2 separate regions of the Homo sapiens genome follow, and region 2 is linked to region 1. The links are contacts of gene promoters, found by promoter capture Hi-C in human tissues and cell types (Jung and others, 2019). All regions are on one chromosome and are shown on one strand. Each heading gives the region's core, a stretch centred on a gene start or on the middle of the fragment in contact. The rest is flanking DNA. Distances are from core to core; before and after follow the strand shown. Region 1 holds the start of ADRA1B (adrenoceptor alpha 1B). Region 2 overlaps LINC01847 (long intergenic non-protein coding RNA 1847).

Region 1 (5,135 bases), core at 1,928-4,427:
GTCAAGTCCATGGGTCAAAAATCAGCCAGAGGGGTTAAGAGGCATCTCTAGCAAAGGAAGGGGAGGAGCAGCAAGGAAAGCACCATTAGCAAAGGTTGCTGTGTGGGGTCCTGCTACACGGCTGTTATTAAGGCTAATACCTGTTCCCCTTACAGTGAGATCTTTGTTTTGCCTTCACGAAACACACTGGTAAATGACAACAAGTCTGAAATCTGCAAGGATTTTGAACTTGTCAATCTGGCTCAATAATTTCTTCCACATCCTGACACCTGAATCAAGACATAAGTTCTCATCTAGGTAACAAACTATTTTCTTTCACAATGAGGATAAACCATCTCTGAATCTCAGATTTGCTCTTTTTTTTTCATCCTGGCCTTTTGCCACCACAGAAAAATGTCTGATAGGCTGAGTTTTCACATTGCAGCTGGTTACTGTGATTATGTAGACACAGCCTCAGTAAATTCAATGGTGTGTTGCTGGCTGTTCAATAGCTGGTGAAATTAATGCCCAGGGAAGTGGGAAATGGGCCACCACAATCAAAATGTGGATTTGGAACTTGCTCTTTATTTTATCCCACCCTTACCCTCCCCTACACCCCTGTCTTTGTGCTAATGCCAGCTACGTGCCAGGTTACTGGTATTCTCTTCCTCCTCCCTCTCCCCTTATAAGTAAACCAGCTCAAGAGAAGCCCCATTATCTTAGACTTAATGATACATTGGGAATGGTGGGAACTGAGTTCATGATACCTCACTCTCACCCCTACCCTGGAAGATGCATGAGAGAAAGGATAGCAGGTGCCTTCGGGGGCCACTTTATCCAGCAAGAGAAGCTGACCACCTGGAGCTACGGGATCTCAAAGATCATCTAAGCCAGGTCCTATCTGCAGACAGACTAGTCTGAGCCACCCAGGACCAATGACAGCCTCTCCTTTTAATAAAGACCCCTGACAGAGGGCTGCCAAGTTCTTCCAGTCTCACACCCCACTGTGTAGGTCATGAGTGGCTGCAGGAGCAGAAGGAGCACTGTCCTGTAGGCCAGGGAAACAGAGTTTCCTAACCAGCTCTGCTCCTGACCATCTTGCCAAGTCTCTTTCCCTAGTGCACCACCTCCAACACAGGAAGATAAGCAAACCAAGGTTCTGAGAGCTTCTGAAGATCTAAATCACTATAAACTTGTGAATCTCTTATTATCAAATCTTCAAATACAGCTTAGGGCAATTTAATTATAATAGAAAATAATCCATTTTCAGGACTGTCTCTACCACAGATTTCTTAACCCGAGGGAAACCCCCTGAAATTGTGTATTTTGCACATGTGTGGAGTCTGTGCACTTTGCTGGGAGTAAATTAAAACCTTCGATACGTGTATGATAACCACCTGCCTCCCTTCTCAAAAAATAAAAATAAAAAGAGGTTAAGAGCTTACCTCTAGGTTGAGAAGCTTAGATGTAAGTCATCCTGAGTGACTTCTGTTTTCCCCACCCGTGAATATCAAGTTATAACAAGTATCAAGAGCAGAAGGTGAGAAACCCAAGATGCAGGCTTGTGAACTGGAGTAAAAGAAGGTATCAGGCTTTACTTTTCAATCTCCAGCTGCCACTGCCCATTGCTCTGCCATATATTTGCTAGCCTATGACCTCAGGAATCAACTGACTCTCTCTGAACCACTGTTTCTCATCTCTCAATGAACAATGGTTATGCTTCTCTCAAAGAATTGTAAAGTCTCAAAGAAACTGAGTAAATGCATGGCTATCAGTAAGCGCTCAATTCATGGGAGTCCCTGCCCAGCACCAGTGGCTCAGGCCCCAAAATTAACTACTCAAAAGGCAGCTCCATCTATAACAGTGGTTCCATCCCCTACCTTGCCCCGGGGGAAAAGTATGACACAGTAGCTGAGTACCCAACTTTGGGAGAGACCCCACAGTTGAGTTCAGTTCCCAGCAGCTCTCCTCCATGCCTTTGTGAACTTGGGCGAACAGCTAAACTTCCCCATAATTTGGTGTCTCATCCATGAAATAGAAATGGTGAAGAGTGTATTCTTTCTCTCATGAGAGTCATGAGAAAATGCAAAAAGAACTCAGCACACTGTCTAGGACAAAATAAATGTTGGATAAATGTGAACTAACATAAAGTTCTTTGGCTTTTTCTTTCTTTCTTTCTTGGCCCATACTTTCTCTTCTAAGTACCATTCACCCACCTTTGGGAGTGCGTCCCTGTGACTGAATGTCCAACATGGATATCAGACAGAAAGGAAAAAACTCAACAAATAACCAAGATCCTCTACGTCCCTTCCCCAGGTCTCTGACCTCCCTCACCCCCACTCCCAGATAGCCAGCTAGCTTCCTCCCTCAATTCCCTTCATGTTTCCTCAAATATCACTTCAGTGACATCCCAAGCACCCACTTAACATTTCAAATCCACCCCACAAACACCCCACTGCATTTCCCCCTCCTTACTTTATTTTCAGCCTAACACCTGTCATCACATTACACACCTCATCATTTGCTTATTTAGTATACTGTCTGTCTTCTGTCGGGAGAAGCTACGCTCCTATAGGGCAGGAGTCCGTCTATTTTGTTCAGTTGCTATGTTCACAGCGCCCAGAGCCAGGGCAGAGAGTGGAGACTCCGTAAGAATCGGCTGAATAAATGAGTGAATGCCTGAGCGAATGAAAGGATGAAGAGAAGCCAGATTTTACTGGGGCCAAAGAGTTTGCACGGGGCGAGGGGAGCCAGATGAAGGATGAGGGCTGGCCTCAGATCCGACTCAAGTCCCTCCCACCTGCCCAATCCTAGAATTCTCTTTCCCTCTTTTAGGTGCTGGACAAGTTGCATATCCCGTTAAATCCGGGGCCCACTCCGGGAGCCCCCTATTAAAGGTAAGCAGCCCCCAACCCACCTTTGACACGGAAGAGTGACTAGCGGGGAAAATAACCCCAGCGGGCCGCCTAGGGGTGGGTGACCCGCGATCTCCACGCCCAGGTCCCGCCCTCGCGGCCCCTGCCCCCGCCCCGCCCCCCGCAGAGGGCGCGCCCTGGGAGCGGCGGGGGACGCGGCTGGCTTCCCGGCTTGCGGGGTGGCGGCGTCGGGGCTGCGGGCGCCTTGGCTGGACCCGCATTGCCCCCTAGTGCCGCGCGGAGTCAGGGCGCCGGGCTCCCCCGCCTGATGTCACCGCCGTGCAGTCAGCCCAGAAGCGGCTCATTGAAAGCAGACCCTCTTCGGCGCTCGCTGGGCGGAGGACGCGCCGCGGTCCGCAGACCCGAGCGAGCTGGGCACCGCCGGGCGCCCCCGGCCCTGCCGCCCCCTCCTCCCCGCCGCTCCCCCGCGAGCCCGGCCAGGCGCGCCTGACGTGGACCATTAAACTTGGAGCTGCCGCCTCGTCCCCTCTCCTCCTCCTCCTCCCTCTGACAGGCGAGCGAGCGACTCGGTGCAGGCAGGAGACGTGCTGCCGGGCTGGGCTGCCCGGGGGAGATGACTCCTCGCCAGGAGGGCGCCTCTGGGAAGAAGACCACGGGGGAAGCAAAGTTTCAGGGCAGCTGAGGAGCCTTCGCCGCAGCCCTTCCGAGCCCAATCATCCCCCTGGCTATGGAGGGCGGACTCTAAGATGAATCCCGACCTGGACACCGGCCACAACACATCAGCACCTGCCCACTGGGGAGAGTTGAAAAATGCCAACTTCACTGGCCCCAACCAGACCTCGAGCAACTCCACACTGCCCCAGCTGGACATCACCAGGGCCATCTCTGTGGGCCTGGTGCTGGGCGCCTTCATCCTCTTTGCCATCGTGGGCAACATCCTAGTCATCTTGTCTGTGGCCTGCAACCGGCACCTGCGGACGCCCACCAACTACTTCATTGTCAACCTGGCCATGGCCGACCTGCTGTTGAGCTTCACCGTCCTGCCCTTCTCAGCGGCCCTAGAGGTGCTCGGCTACTGGGTGCTGGGGCGGATCTTCTGTGACATCTGGGCAGCCGTGGATGTCCTGTGCTGCACAGCGTCCATTCTGAGCCTGTGCGCCATCTCCATCGATCGCTACATCGGGGTGCGCTACTCTCTGCAGTATCCCACGCTGGTCACCCGGAGGAAGGCCATCTTGGCGCTGCTCAGTGTCTGGGTCTTGTCCACCGTCATCTCCATCGGGCCTCTCCTTGGGTGGAAGGAGCCGGCACCCAACGATGACAAGGAGTGCGGGGTCACCGAAGAACCCTTCTATGCCCTCTTCTCCTCTCTGGGCTCCTTCTACATCCCTCTGGCGGTCATTCTAGTCATGTACTGCCGTGTCTATATAGTGGCCAAGAGAACCACCAAGAACCTAGAGGCAGGAGTCATGAAGGAGATGTCCAACTCCAAGGAGCTGACCCTGAGGATCCATTCCAAGAACTTTCACGAGGACACCCTTAGCAGTACCAAGGCCAAGGGCCACAACCCCAGGAGTTCCATAGCTGTCAAACTTTTTAAGTTCTCCAGGGAAAAGAAAGCAGCTAAGACGTTGGGCATTGTGGTCGGTATGTTCATCTTGTGCTGGCTACCCTTCTTCATCGCTCTACCGCTTGGTAAGTTGGGGACTAGCAGCAGGGGGACTGGGCATTTTTGGACCTTGGGTTTACTGATGAGCTTACTCTAAAGTTTTTTGTGGGTTTTGTTTCTTATGCAGTCTGTGCGTGTTCGGAGATTGAATAATATTGTTTGTTCTGCAAAGGGTTTGCAGATTGGGGAGCTGGCTAAAAACCAACTCAGGTGTTAGTAGAACACGCTAAGGCACTAGCTTCTGGAAATAGAACCAGGGAAGGAAAATCTGGTATGAGGAATGACTCACTCAACAGCCTCGGTTTAATAATTAAAAAGGATATTCACTGGGCTTGAATATCACACCGGCGTTATTTCAGTAGTAATGATGTGTCGGCTAAGGCAGCGTCACTAATGCAGCATACAAAATAGTTTGTAGTTACTGCAGACGCGGCATTTGGGAAGCAGGGAGGCAGCTCGTACACAGAAAGGCAGCATTCATTCAGCATTTCCAGGGCTAGAGCAGAAGCCACGCTTCTCAAGAGCTTTGCAGAGGCTGCATTCTCTCCCTCCCCTCTTCACTGACAGCTATCACCCAGATATACTACGTTCATTATCCGTTAATAAGAGCA
Region 2 (4,904 bases), core at 1,290-3,789, 110 kb before region 1:
TGTAAAATAGAAGGATCATTTCTATCTGGGTCTGACTTTTTTAGTGGAAGAGATTATATAAACTTTCTGGGTCTCAGTTTCTTTATCTGTTAAATTAAGATAATAAAGTGCATGTGTCAGAAGAAATTGTAAAAACTAAATGAGATAATTCATGGAAAACACCACTAGATCTTTCTCTTCTGTGTTCCTTAGGACAAGTTAATTAATATCTTCTTAAGATATTACTCCTTTGGGAAAATTTTGCATTTCAGTAGCCTTTATACTCTAATTGCATTATGAGCTCCCTAAGGTCATTGTGAGCTCCCTAACTGTACTTTAGACATTTTTCTTTTTATTCCTTGCATTTAGCACAATACTGGGCTCAGAGCCGGTGATCGATAAACACCTGTCAAAAGATTGCCTCCAAGGTGTCTTCCAGGACTTACGTGCTGTAATTACTTCCAACAGACTTCTCCTCAAGGAGATATAGAATGTAAATTTGTACCTAGAGTCGTCTGTTCCTTTTGTAGAATCATGGCCCAAGAATCCCAGGTTTCAAGTTAAGAAGCACGAAATTGGTTCATTCAGTGATCATTCACTATGACATCAAAACCCTGCAATTCCAGGATAGTAATTAATTTAATTGAAATGAATCTATGGCTAGACACTGTCTCTCCAGCAAAAATGTAGCTGCAAATGCTTCCTGGGGGCAAATTTGAAGAGTAACATGAAGTAGAGTTGACCTAAGAAGAAAATAAAGAAAAAAGCTAAATATCCAGGATAGTTCCATGATTTTAGATGGTGATTTTTGGTATTTAAGTGGATTAGGATATAAGGTAGGGAGGAGTAAAGAAATGAGGGAATATTTGCCACTAATATACCATTGATGATGATAATGATGATAGTTACCATTTTATGAGCAGTTACTACATGAAAGTGCCATGTCACGCAACTTATATCCATTGTTTCATTTCCTCTTCATAGCTACACTAAGAGGTAAATGCTACTACTGTTTCCATTTTATAAATGAAAAAAAAATGAGGCTCAGAGAAGTTAATTCCTTTCACAATGTCATATAGTCAATATGTAGTAGAGGCAGAATTTGAACCCAGTTTTGATTATTTTAAAATAGCATATTTAGCCAATTCTGTAGCTGAATCCTAAACTTCTCTCTTCTTCTAATGCAAACAATAAATTAAATAGTAATTTAAGTTTTATAACTACTACTACATGTTAAAAAGAAAAACCCCATGTTGGATAAGCAGATTTATTTAACAATGTAATAATAATTTCCAGGGCCTTATCAAGGGTTAGCTATGAATTGGAAATTTTAAACAGTGATATTGTGGGTTTTATCTCTTATCTACAACTCTGCAAAGAAGATATAATAGACCATTTTACACATGAGAAAACTAAGCTCATGCAACTAAAACAACTTCCCTTATTCCCAGAGGTGACAAATGGCAGAGGACAGATCTTGAATACAGGCCCTGATTTTTCCTTTGATCTCTGCTGAGGTAGTATTATACCAGGAACATATTCTGCTATATGGAAAATGTGGTTGGAGATAAGCTATGGAAAAGACATTATAATTCAGCCTACTTTTTAAGTTCTGAGTCTCAAGAGGGTTGTTTTGTTTGTTTTGCTTTTTCTCTTAATGAAATTATTCAAAGGCATCTCTCAAATGTTTGGGATTTGAGTAAGAAATGCCAAAACATGCTTCTTCTCTTAAGAATGTTCTTCTCTGTCTGTTAAAATCTCTATGTAATTTCAGGCAAAATTTAATTCATCTGTTTCTGATTCACTTCCCAAACTTACCACCATGTTTCGTAGAGGCCATTTAAAGTCTATGACTTTCGGAGTTGCTCTGAGCTACTTGTCTTTAAAATAGGAAGTTAGATTTTTTCATAAGGGCAGAGGACTTGGCCTCAGAGGAAAGGGGATGTGTTCCAAGTCCCAAGCCACAAAGTGCATGTGGTTTCCAAACCTGGCTGGTGTCTGCTTCTCCACCCCTCTACTGCAAGCCTCAGCACAGTGACTTCACTCAACAGCCAGAATCAGAATTTATCTCCCTTTTCTGTTCAAAATTCATTATAATATTTGAATCTAATTTTAAGAGCAATCAGAGACGAAAAAGAAATGAAGGACATCCAAATCAGAAAGGAAGAAATAAAATCCTTGTTTAAAGATGACATGATTCTATACGTAGAAAGCTTTAAAGACTCCACACCAAAAAAAAAAAAAAAAAACTGTTAGAACTAATAAATGAATTCAGTAAAACAGCAGGATACAAAGATCACTGTACAAAAATTAGTAGCATTTCCTTACATCAACAACTACTTATCCAAAAAAGAAAATCAAGAAAATGATCCCATTTACAATAGCATTAAAAAGAATAATTATAAAGCTATGATAATCAAAACTGTATGGTACTGAAATAAAGATAGACACATAGACCAATGAAAGAGAAATAAACCCAAATATACAAGGTCAACTAATTTTCAACAAGGGCACTAAGAATACACAAAGGGGAAAGGATAGCCTCTTTAATTAATGATGTTGGGAGAACTGAATACCAACATACAAAAGAACAAAACTGAAACCTTATCTTACACCTACCAAAAATCAATTCAAAATGGATTAAAGACTTAAAAGTAAGACTTGAAACCATAAAATTCCTAGAAGAAAACAAAGGGGAAAACTTCTTGACATTGACCTTTGCCATGATTTTTTGGATATGACACCAAAAGTTCATGAAACAAAAGCAAAAATAAACAAGTGACACCTGCACGTTGTGCACATGTACCCTAGAACTGAAAGTATAATAATAAAAAAAATTTTAAAAAAATAAACAAGTGAGACTACATCAAGCATAAAAGCTTCTGAGCAGCAAAGGAAACAATCAACAAAATAAAAAGGCAATCTGTGAACTGGGATTACCTAGTTCTTGGTTAATTATTTTTAATGCATTGAAATTTATTGCACAAATAAAAGAACTGCTTTTTTAAAAGATGAAAAATAGGAACTATGTTTAAAATAAAAAATATTTTTACTCTTTTCCAAGTTTCCTTCCAATTCTTGTTTACATATACTCACGAATTTTTACACAGCTGCAATGAAAGTGAATACATGATTTGGTAGCATACAAATGTTATTTAATCATAAGTATGTTTCTTCGTTGCTATTTGGTCTAAATTGTTTTTAGTGACTGCATAATATGCTATAAAGTTGATGTCCCATAGCATAAATTCAGGAGTTTTAGATTCTTTCAAACAGTTTGAGATATGTATAAAGAGTTAATACATTCAGAGTTCCATTTCTGGTATGGTAAATTAAACTGCTAACAGACTGACCCTTCTGTAAACAACTATAAACTCTGGAGAACATGTGAGGGGAGAAAAACCATCAGAAGGCCACAGAAAATGAACAAAAGCAGACATATTTTGGAGGAAAATTAAAAGTTGAAGGAAGGGACCAGTACAGAGTGAGTTTCTAGTTTTTGTAGTTTTAGCCTTAGGTGAGACCACAATAGTAGTACAACATGAAGCAGCTAAAACTCCAAAGAAAATCCACCATTTTTCTAGCCAGAAGAACCAGAATACAAGAGACTGGGCAAGTATAGCCACTGGCCAGTAAGAAAAAAATCCCAGAAAAGAGAGGTCCAGAAAAGGGTGCTCACAATTCTATTTAAAACCCTGCCCAAGTCTCTGGGTGTACCCTATGGCAGCTAAAACCAAACAAGATTTAAGCTGCCAGCCATCACAGGCAAGAGTTTACACTTTGAGTCAAACCAAGTTAATTGTCAGCTAAAACAAAAACATCAACCCTCCTGCAAGAAATATAATAGAATTCGGTCTTTATACATGTACATGTATGTTTATTGTGGGACTGTTCACAATAGCAAAGACTTGGAACCAACCAAAATGCCCATCAATGATAGACTGGATAAATAAAATGTGTCACATATACACCAAGGAATACTATGCAGCCATAAAAAAGGATGGGTTCATGTCCTTTGCAAGGACATGGATGAAGCTGGAAACCATCATTCTCAGCAAACTAAGACAGGAACAGAAAACCAAACATCACATGTCCTCACTCATAAGTGGAAGTTGAACAATGAGAACACAGGGACACAGGGAGGGGAACGTCACACACCGGGGCCTGTCTGGGAATGAGGGGCTAGGGGAGAGATAGCATCATCTACATTAGGAGAAATACCTAATGTAGGTGATGGGTTGATGGGTGCAGCAAACCACCATGGCACAGGTATACCTATGTAACAAACCTGCATGTTCTGCACATGTACCCCAAAACTTAAAGTATAATTAAAAAAGAAGAATTCAGTATTTATAATGTTTCATTTGCAATATCTAGTATACGATTCAAAATTACTCAACAAATGAAGAACCAAAAAAAATGTGAATCATTCTCTAGGGATGACCAAGCTCTAAAATGAGCCAGATGTTGGAATTTTCAGTCAAGGACTTCAATGCTGTATAACCTTGCTAAATGAGATAAGAGAAAAAATACTCACAATAAAGTAAAGGTAGGAAATCGAAATAGATAAATGAAAAATATTTTTAATATTTTTAAATTAAAATATTAAAAATGAATATTTCTAATGATAATGAAATACTTTGGAAGTCAGATAAATGAAAGATAAATGAAAGTGAGGAAAAATGGGAATGAAAATTATATCTGATTTTTTAAATAAAAAGTATTGGATGAGTTTAATAGTAGAATGGAAATGACAGGAAAGCATCAGTAAACTAAAGACAGAGCAATGAAGACTATGTAATCTGAAAAAGAAAAAAAAAGATTTTTAAAAATGAACAACACATCACCTCAGAGAACTGTATAAGCAGTTTCTTTAAAACACGGATAAGTAGTTTCTTAGAAAAAGAAGGAAAATGCCAGGCGTG

What was found. Contacts are between HindIII fragments. The study calls those that stand out against the background at their distance.
Region 2: a fragment that was not itself captured here is called in contact with the fragment with the promoter of ADRA1B in region 1 in 4 of the 25 tissues and cell types used here (H1 embryonic stem cells, IMR-90 fibroblasts, hippocampus and 1 more).

What each region holds. Positions count from the first base shown.
Region 1 is chr5:159,913,305-159,918,439 of GRCh38, forward strand. ADRA1B (adrenoceptor alpha 1B) reads left to right here and starts at 3,178. Exons shown (of 2, transcript NM_000679.4): 1 at 3,178-4,550. The coding sequence starts at 3,602. RefSeq lists a silencer at 3,012-3,071 and enhancers at 3,135-3,751, 3,752-4,368. The HindIII fragment of the contact is 5,190 bases long and covers 388-5,135 here.
Region 2 is chr5:159,803,361-159,808,264 of GRCh38, forward strand. All of the region lies in intron 2 of LINC01847 (long intergenic non-protein coding RNA 1847), which reads right to left. Among named protein-coding and RNA genes, the nearest start is that of LINC01847, 66 kb to the right of the region's middle. The HindIII fragment of the contact is 5,822 bases long and covers 1-4,904 here.